Regions from separate parts of the Homo sapiens genome. Here regions 1 and 2 are each linked to region 3. The links are contacts of gene promoters, found by promoter capture Hi-C in blood cells and fetal thymus (Javierre and others, 2016). All regions are on one chromosome and are shown on one strand. Each heading gives the region's core, a stretch centred on a gene start or on the middle of the fragment in contact. The rest is flanking DNA. Distances are from core to core; before and after follow the strand shown. Region 1 has its middle 100 kb from the start of GAD2. Region 2 has its middle 100 kb from the start of APBB1IP. Region 3 holds the start of ABI1 (abl interactor 1).

What was found. The method cuts DNA at HindIII sites, captures the fragments that hold promoters and counts their contacts. A CHiCAGO score of 5 or more calls a contact.
Region 1: a fragment that was not itself captured here is called in contact with the fragment with the promoter of ABI1 in region 3 in 1 of 17 cell types (total CD4 T cells); the score reaches 5.2 in total CD4 T cells.
Region 2: a fragment that was not itself captured here is called in contact with the fragment with the promoter of ABI1 in region 3 in 5 of 17 cell types (fetal thymus, total CD8 T cells, neutrophils and 2 more); the score reaches 7.4 in fetal thymus.

What each region holds. Positions count from the first base shown.
Region 1 is chr10:26,320,357-26,323,056 of GRCh38, forward strand. No RefSeq gene overlaps it. Among named protein-coding and RNA genes, the nearest start is that of GAD2, 100 kb to the left of the region's middle. The HindIII fragment of the contact is 3,191 bases long and covers 1-2,700 here.
Region 2 is chr10:26,336,738-26,339,443 of GRCh38, forward strand. No RefSeq gene overlaps it. Among named protein-coding and RNA genes, the nearest start is that of APBB1IP, 100 kb to the right of the region's middle. The HindIII fragment of the contact is 266 bases long and covers 1,167-1,432 here.
Region 3 is chr10:26,859,696-26,862,395 of GRCh38, forward strand. It overlaps ABI1 (abl interactor 1), which reads right to left and starts at 1,263. Exons shown (of 11, transcript NM_001012750.3): 1 at 1,052-1,263. The coding sequence starts at 1,168. RefSeq lists silencers at 636-785, 896-985 and an enhancer at 1,306-1,505. The HindIII fragment of the contact is 3,622 bases long and covers 1-2,700 here.

The DNA of each region.
Region 1 (2,700 bases), core at 148-2,647, 540 kb before region 3:
GAGAGTGTCAAGACTATATTTCGTTTATAAGATACAAAAACTAATATGGAAATAATTATGGTTGCTGAAATTTAAAAATAAAGCAATAGATAAAAATAAAAAGTTGAGGAAATCTCTAAAAGTAGGAAAAAATAGACAATAAGATGGAAAATGCAAGAGAAAATTAGAGAAAATTATACAATCAAGCCAAGAGGTCCAAGAAAATACAACAGAAAAAAACAGGAGGTTAAAAAAAAATCATCACAGAGAATGGGATGGGGGTATGGGATAAAAAACTACATACAGGGTACAATATATACTACCCTGGTGATGTGTGCACTAAAATCTCACCACTTTATAATTCATCTATGTAACCCAAAACTACTTGTATCCCAAAAGCTATTGAAAAATTTTTTTAATCTGTAATTAAAAAAAAAAAAAAAGATCTTTGAGTGACACATGACTGTAGTCCCAACGACTCAGGAGGCTGACACAGGAGACTGCTTGAGCCCAGGAGTTCAAGGCCAGCATGGGCAACATAGCAAGCCCTCCTGCCAAAAAAGGCCTCTGGGCCAGGTGCAGTGGCTCACGCCTATAATCCCAGCACTCTGGGAGGCCAAGGCAGGTGGATCATCTGAGGTCAGGAGTTCGAGACCATCCTGACCAACATGGAGAAACCCTGTCTCCACTGAAAATACAAAAAATTAGCCGGGCATTGTGGCACATGCCTGTAATCTCAGCTACTCAGGAGGCTGAGGTAGGAGAACCGCTTGAACCCAGGAGGCAGAGGTTGCAGTGAGCCGAGATCGTGCCATTGCACTCTAGCCTGGGCAACAAGAGCGAAACTCTGTCTCAAAAAAAAAAAAAAAAAAAGTCTTTTGAAAAATGTTTGTATCATCGATGTAAACCCATGTTATGAAATGATAAAACATTTTGCCAGTTTTTAAAAAATCATCACAGATATAATGAAACCTTTTTGGTAATATTGTGGACTAGATTCCCTTACCTTCCTTTTGGTTGAAACCAGCTAAAATTGTTAGATAATATATTTAAACATATTCTTAAAAACATCAATGATCTGGCAATAAATAAAAAATACTCCAGGTTAGGAGCTTCATGAAGGCAGAAATCCAGAGAAATAAGCCTAGCACTAAGCCAGTTTTCACCTTGAGTTTATTTGCCAAACTTTGTGGATCTGAGCTTTGGTTTCATGGCTTCCTGGGAGAAAGGAGACCAAGCTCCATGCCTGCTGAACAGAGACTCTTCCCCCATAAGGCTGATACCTCACATAGCTACAACCTCAGTGTAGGTTTCTGAAGAACCAGTCGTGTGGCTATTGAAATCACCAAGAATAAAGCAGGAGTTGCGTTGGGATGACAATGAATCAGATGTTACAATCGACGAAAAGTGAGTAAGTATCTGAAAGTGCCTATAGATGCCTGCAGAAAGGAAGGGCAGTGGGTTGCATGGTCCAATGGCATGAGATTCAAAGACAGGGGTCTGCAGGGAATTGGAGAGGAGGAGGATGGAATTAGAAACAGAAGGGGCCCAGGAGAGTAACCCTACTTTCAAACCTGCTGGTTCCAGGTCTGTGAGAGTGAAAACTAGCCAGCAACCAGCTGCATAGATTTCAGAGAAGCAGAGTGCCGAGGAAAAGCCAGGTTTGAATTAATGCAAGAAGAAGTGCATTTTCAGAAAAGACACTGGGGATGTGGGGAATTTAGGTGAAGACTGCCCAGTGGAAAGGCTTCAGGAGTAGAAGATGGATGGGGCTGGAGTGTGCACAAAGCCTTATGGGAGTAAGAGTCTGTGTGGTGAGGGGTGGTCTGGGAGTCTGGGGCTTCTTGTGATGAGGACACACAAGGAGATGAAGAGAACGAGAGTAATTAGTCCCTAAGGAAGAAGCCAATGTCTTGTTAATAGGCATCTACTAAACATGCAGTGAAAGGGTTTAGTCACTCTATTGACAAGACATTTACTCCCCACAAATTCTTCCATTCTCTCCACCCACCATCAGACATATAGAGACATTAAAAATTGGAAAATAATTGTCTTCTCACCTATAAAACTCAATAAGATCACAGTCATCATTATTTCAAGGCAATTAACAGGGATAATATCCTGCCTTTCAGTAACTAGATTACTTCCAAGAACTAACTGTAAGGTATTTTGTTTTTTATTTTTTATTTTCATAGGTTTTTGGGGAACAGGTGGTATTTGGTTACATGATTAAGTCCTTTAGTGGTGATTTGTGAGATTTTGGTGCACCCATCCCCCGAGCAGTGTACACTGAACCTGATTTGTAGACTTTTAACCCTTACACCCTTCCCACCATTTCTTCCTGAGTTCCCACAGCCCATTGTATCATTCTTATGCCTTTGCATCCTCATAGCTTAGCCCCTGCTTATGAGTGAGAACACATGATGATTGGTTTTCCATTCCTGAGTTACTTCACTTAGAATGATAGTCTCTAATTCCATCCAGGTTGCTGTGAATGCCATTAATTCATTCCTTTTTATGGCTGAGTAGCATTCCATTGTGTGTGTGTGTGTGTGTGTGTGTGTGTGTGTGTGTGTGTGTGTGTGTGCATATATATATATATATCACAGTTTCTTTACCACTAGTTGACTGATGGGCATTTGGGCTGGTTCTACATTTTTGCAATTGTGAATTGTGCTGCTAGAAACATGTGTGTGCAAGTATCTTTTTCGTATAATGACT
Region 2 (2,706 bases), core at 50-2,549, 520 kb before region 3:
TAGGTGCACGCAACCACACCCTGCTAGTTTTTTTTATCTCTTTATTTGTATTTTTAGTAGAGATGGAGTTTCACCATGTTGGCCAGGCCAGTCTCGAACTCCTGACCTCAGGTGATGAACCCGCCTCGGCCTCCCAAAATGCTGGGATTACAGGTGTGAGCCACCGCACCTGGCTGAATAATGATACTTTCAAAGAGCTAATCTCCTGGTCCAACATTCCACCTTTCACACCATCTCCCACTCTCTCACCAAAGTGTCCTATAACTGCCCTCCTTAAAACTTTTTACATCTGCAAAACTAAGTCCAAATTCCCGAGCATGACATACAAACCCTTTATGATCCAGTTCTTTCTTATCTCTCCAACCTAAGCTCTTGACAATTTCTCCTTTCCAAGCCCCAAGTCACCCACCACTTCCTCTTCCAGCCTCTCCAACTATGTTGGACTCCCCAACGCACTACACAGAGTATACTAGTACAGGGTGTGGCCTGTTCTGTGCCTAGGCCTGAATGGTTGCAAACACCTAAGCATGTGAGCAATTTATTTGTGTATTTGGCTGTTTCCCTCCTCAGGCTGTGGGTTTTTTGAGGCCTGGGATTATGCTCTATTATATTCATGTACCCACACTGTGCCTGACACATGGTAGGTGCTGATAAATATTTTATGAATATAAAAGTTGAAATAATTGAAATAAATAAGAATAACCAATGTTTACACAGAAGACAATACTCAGAAACTCATAAGGGACAGGAATTTTATTTGATGCTGTACATTACTGTTAGTAAAGGTGACCATTAACACAGTTGGATCCTCAAATGTTGATGAATGATCTAAAAAATGGAAAACTGTCTTTAAGCCACATATTGAGCAAAATAAAACATTACTGGTAGATGCATTATATTGCATTTAATAAAATGTGTCAATACTTATAAAAGTATTGCCTTTATGGAAACTCTTGAAGCAGAATCATTGTCTGGGGTAAATACCCAAGGTTCATCATCTCACACCAGGGGAATTGAGGACACAAATACATAAGAAGTGAGTATAAGAGTGGAGATTTAATAGGCAAAAGAAAGAAAAAAATAGAATAGTTCTGTCTCCTGCAGACAGAGGGGTGCCAGAGTGGGTCTTCTGGTTCTGAGGTGAAATGCATGGGGTTTTATAGCCAAGCTTGAGGAGGTGGTGTCTTATTTACATAGGACTCAAGAGATTGGTTGGGCCAGGTGTGCTGTTTACATAGCATGCGAAGAAGCTGGCTGCCTCACTCTAATATTTTATTATGCAAATAGACTCTTTACCTGGCCAGCACCATGTCGGCTTCTTTACTGCACACATGGTTGACAAAGAAAAGGGAAGATGGAGCCTCCATGTTGAACATACTTGGCCCCACGTAGCCTTTTCCTGTTGGCCAAGCTGCTGTCGTTCACCCGCGCAAGCTTCCAGTTTGCTTGCCTATGTCTGCAGCTCGATTTTTAAGGCTGCTCTTTGTTAGAAAAGAAATGATTTGGGGGCTGCTTTTCATTAAAAGGAAAACCTTACCGAGGACTTCCTTACCCTCACTATCTGCCTGAATAATTTCTTTTTAATTTCTATATTAATATTATACAGATTATGCTATTTCAAAATCATTCTAGATTAAAGGAGGCTTGATCACAAACTGAAAACCTGAGTTAAAATACATACATTTTATCTCACATATAGGTAACTATTACCTTTACAAAATATATTTTAGAACTTGTTATAACAGAGGATGAAAGTAAACACAGCACTTACTCCTAGCTTAGGATCAAACACTTGGAAAACATCTGACAAAAGTCTAATAGTCAGCATCTATTAGAAACGTAAACAAATATACAAGAAAAAGCAAACAACCCCATTAAAAAGTGGGCAAAGGATATAAACAGACACTTTCCCAAAGAATACATACATGTGGCCAACAAGCATGTGAAAAAAAGCTCAATATCACTGATTATTAGAGAAATGCAAATCAAAATGACAATGAGACATCATATCACAGCAGTCAGAATGACTATTACTAAAGAATCAAAAAATAACAGATGCTAGTGAGGTTGCAGAGAAAAGGGAATGCTTATACACTGTTGGTGGGAGTGTAAATCAGTTCAACTATTGTGGAACGCAGTATGACGATCCCTCACAGAGCTAAACATGGAAATACCATTTGACCCACCAATCCCATTACTGGGTATATACCCAAAGGAATATAAATGATTGTACCAAAAGACACATGCACATGTAAGTTGATTGCAGCACGATTCACAACAGCAAAGACATGGAATCAACCTAAATGCCCATCAATGGCAGACTGGATAAAGAAAATGTGGTACACAAACACCGTGGAATACTATGCAGCCATAAAAATGAACGAGATCATGTCATTTGCAGGAACATGAATGGAGCTAGAGAGGATTATCCTCGGCAAACTAATGTAGGAAAAGAAAAAACAAATACTGCATGTTCTCACGTACAAGTGGGAGCTAAATGATGCAAACACAGGGACACAAAGAGGGGAACAACAGACACTGAGGCCTACTTGAGCGTGGAGGGTGGGAGGATGGAGAGAATCAGAAAAAATAACTACTGGGTACTAGGCTTAGTATCTGGCTGATGAAATAATCTGTACAACAAACCCCCATAACACAAATTTACCTATATAATAAACTTGCACATGTACCCCTGAACCTAAAATA
Region 3 (2,700 bases), core at 13-2,512:
GATATTTTTACGTTGTAGTTCAGAGGCTACCTCTGTTCGTTTCTGTATTTGGATTCACATACTATACATTTACTTAGCTTGTTAAGAGAGAAACCTCAGAAAATAAGCAACCGGCGATGACACCAGTCTATTTTAAGTTACTTATGAAGCCTACAGCTCAAGAACTTTTGGGAGAAGGGAGGGTAAGCCGTTTTTCCAAGGAGTTAAGAACAATTCGTGTTTGATAATTAATGATAGCAGCCCTAACAACCTCTTAGAATACATTATGGTGGGGCGGAAGTGAAAACGATGAGAGGGGGAAAAAAATAAAAAAAACCCGACTTGAAAATGGACAAGCAGACAGATTTACAAACCTTCAATTAAAGGAATTTTAAGATGAACTTCTCTCAAACGCCCTCCCTCACTCCCCACACCCGCTTCCTCCTCTCCTCCGGGAGGTCGGTGTAATGTGACTCATGACAAATTTTTTTTAAATAAATAAATAAATAAAAGACACACCCTCTGGGGGCTGAAACTGACATAATCGCCCCCACCCCACCCTCCGCCGACACACAACACACACCCCGCTGGTCCTCTCCCTTCTGCGGCTTCAGCCTCGTCCCTGCCCTCTCCTCTCCCCTCTCCCGTCCTGGACCTCCTCTCCCGGCGCAGAGAGGCGGCGCGGCGGCAGCTCGGGGGTATTCCGGGACTCCAGCCCTGCGGACTGGAGGCTACCTGGGGGGCGCGCGACCCCGGTGGCCGGGCCCTGGGGGAAGCGGACGCGAGGGGGGCGCCGGGCTGCGGCAGCGGCGGGCTCCCGGCTCCCTCGCCCATTTTCTCTCTCCCCTTCTATCGGTTTCCACCACCACAGCCACTTCCTGTATCGCAGCCCGACTCCCTCAGCCCGGCCACTCGCTCTGTCCCCGGTTGGGGCTGGGGTTGGGGCTGCGGTAGGGGCTCGGGTTGGTGGCAGCCGCTGAGGTCAGGGCAGTTCCCCACCCCGCCCAGTGGGCTGGTCACTCCGGCGGGTCCTCGACCCGGCCAGCGCCCGCCGGCCGCCAGAGCGCCTCACCTGTATGTAGTTGTTTTCACAGTAGTCTGCCACCCGAGTCAGGTTCTGGTAACTCTCGATCAGCGCCCTCTTGCCAGACGGGATCTCCTCCTCTAGTAACATCTGCAGCTCTGCCATTTTCCACCCCTCTGCATCGCTTCCTCTCGCGTTAAAGAGACAGAGGCAGCAAGGTCCGCCGAGGCTCCGAGCACCTCACAGCCCGGATACAAACCGCCTACCCGCCCTCCCGCCTGGTATTGTGGGACGGCACCTCCTCCCCTTCCTCCTCACTCTCTCCAGCCCCCCTCCACCCCCTTCGTGCAGCCGCCTGAACCTCGTTCTCTCGCGAGCGTTTATTTCTCCCACCCCCACGGACCGCGGGATTTTTTTTTTCTTTCGCACTGTCTTCTGGGAATTGTAGTCTCTCCTAGGCTAGGCGGCCCGTCCAAAGCGCATGCGCCCAGACACCTCCGAAAACCAACGCGGCAGAGCGCAGAAAGCGGAGACCGAGGGTGGAGGGAGGGGGCGGTGTTGGGGGGAAGTCCGGAGTTTCCTCACAGCTCCGGAAGGTGGCGCCACAGGGTGATACTGGGGGAATGAAATCGGTTCCCCAAGTTTCATGTGAAACTTGGCAGAACTTGGTTAATTAGGAAATGTCAGTGAATCAAGGACACCCATTCAGAGAAGGATTAAAAAGGGGACAGAGTACGGAAAACTAGATTTTTACTTCCTCTGCCTTCTTAGAAATAAAGCGAGTCAGGCTTTACTTTCTGAAGTTCCGCCCCCATCAATTCATTTAAAATTTAGCAAACATTTCTTGATTGCCAGCTGTTTACCAAGCAGCGTACTAGACACTGGGGGTACAAGTTGAGTACGAATACTCCGTACCCTTAAAGACTCAATTATAAAATAAACATACATAGCTTGTAGTGCTTTCCTGTCCTAATTTCTCTTTTCTCTGACTCTCCTTATCATGTAATCTTCCTACACTTTTAAGGTCATGTGCACGTTTTTTTAGGGGTGGGAGTTGTTTGCTTGTTTGAGACAGGATCTCACTGTTACCCAGCCTGGAGTACAGGGGCACAATCATGGGTCTCTGCAGCCTAGACCTCCTAAAGTCAAGCGATCCTCCTGCCTCAGCCTCCAGAGTAACTGGGACTACAAGCGTCGGTCACTACACCTGGCTGAGCTTTTTAATTTTTTATAGCGACAGGGATCAAATTATGTTGCCCTCGCTCGTCTCGAACCCCTGGCCTCAAGCAATCCTTCTGCCTCAACCTCCCAAACTGCTAGGATTACAATCATGAGCCACCCACCCTGATCCTTCGTTTTTTGCTCCTGGATTTTTGTTTTGTTTTGTTTTTATCACCTGCTTTGGAATAGTCTCAAAAGGCCCTATATTTCAAGCTCTTCACTTCAACAGGAACATTAAATGCTTCGGATATAATCAGCTATGAAAAGTGTTGTCCAAAGACTTTGGACATATGTTCATGTATCTCCATAAAGTCATTTAGAATCAAAATAACTAGGAGTAAAAACATCACTCAACCAAATTAAAAATTGCCAGCACCAGGTATTTATTGAATATTGCCTTTACTGGGGCCTTATTCAGGGCCCCAGGGAACCAGTTTCCCTCTTCGACCTCTGAAAGGAAAAACTCAGTTTCCTAC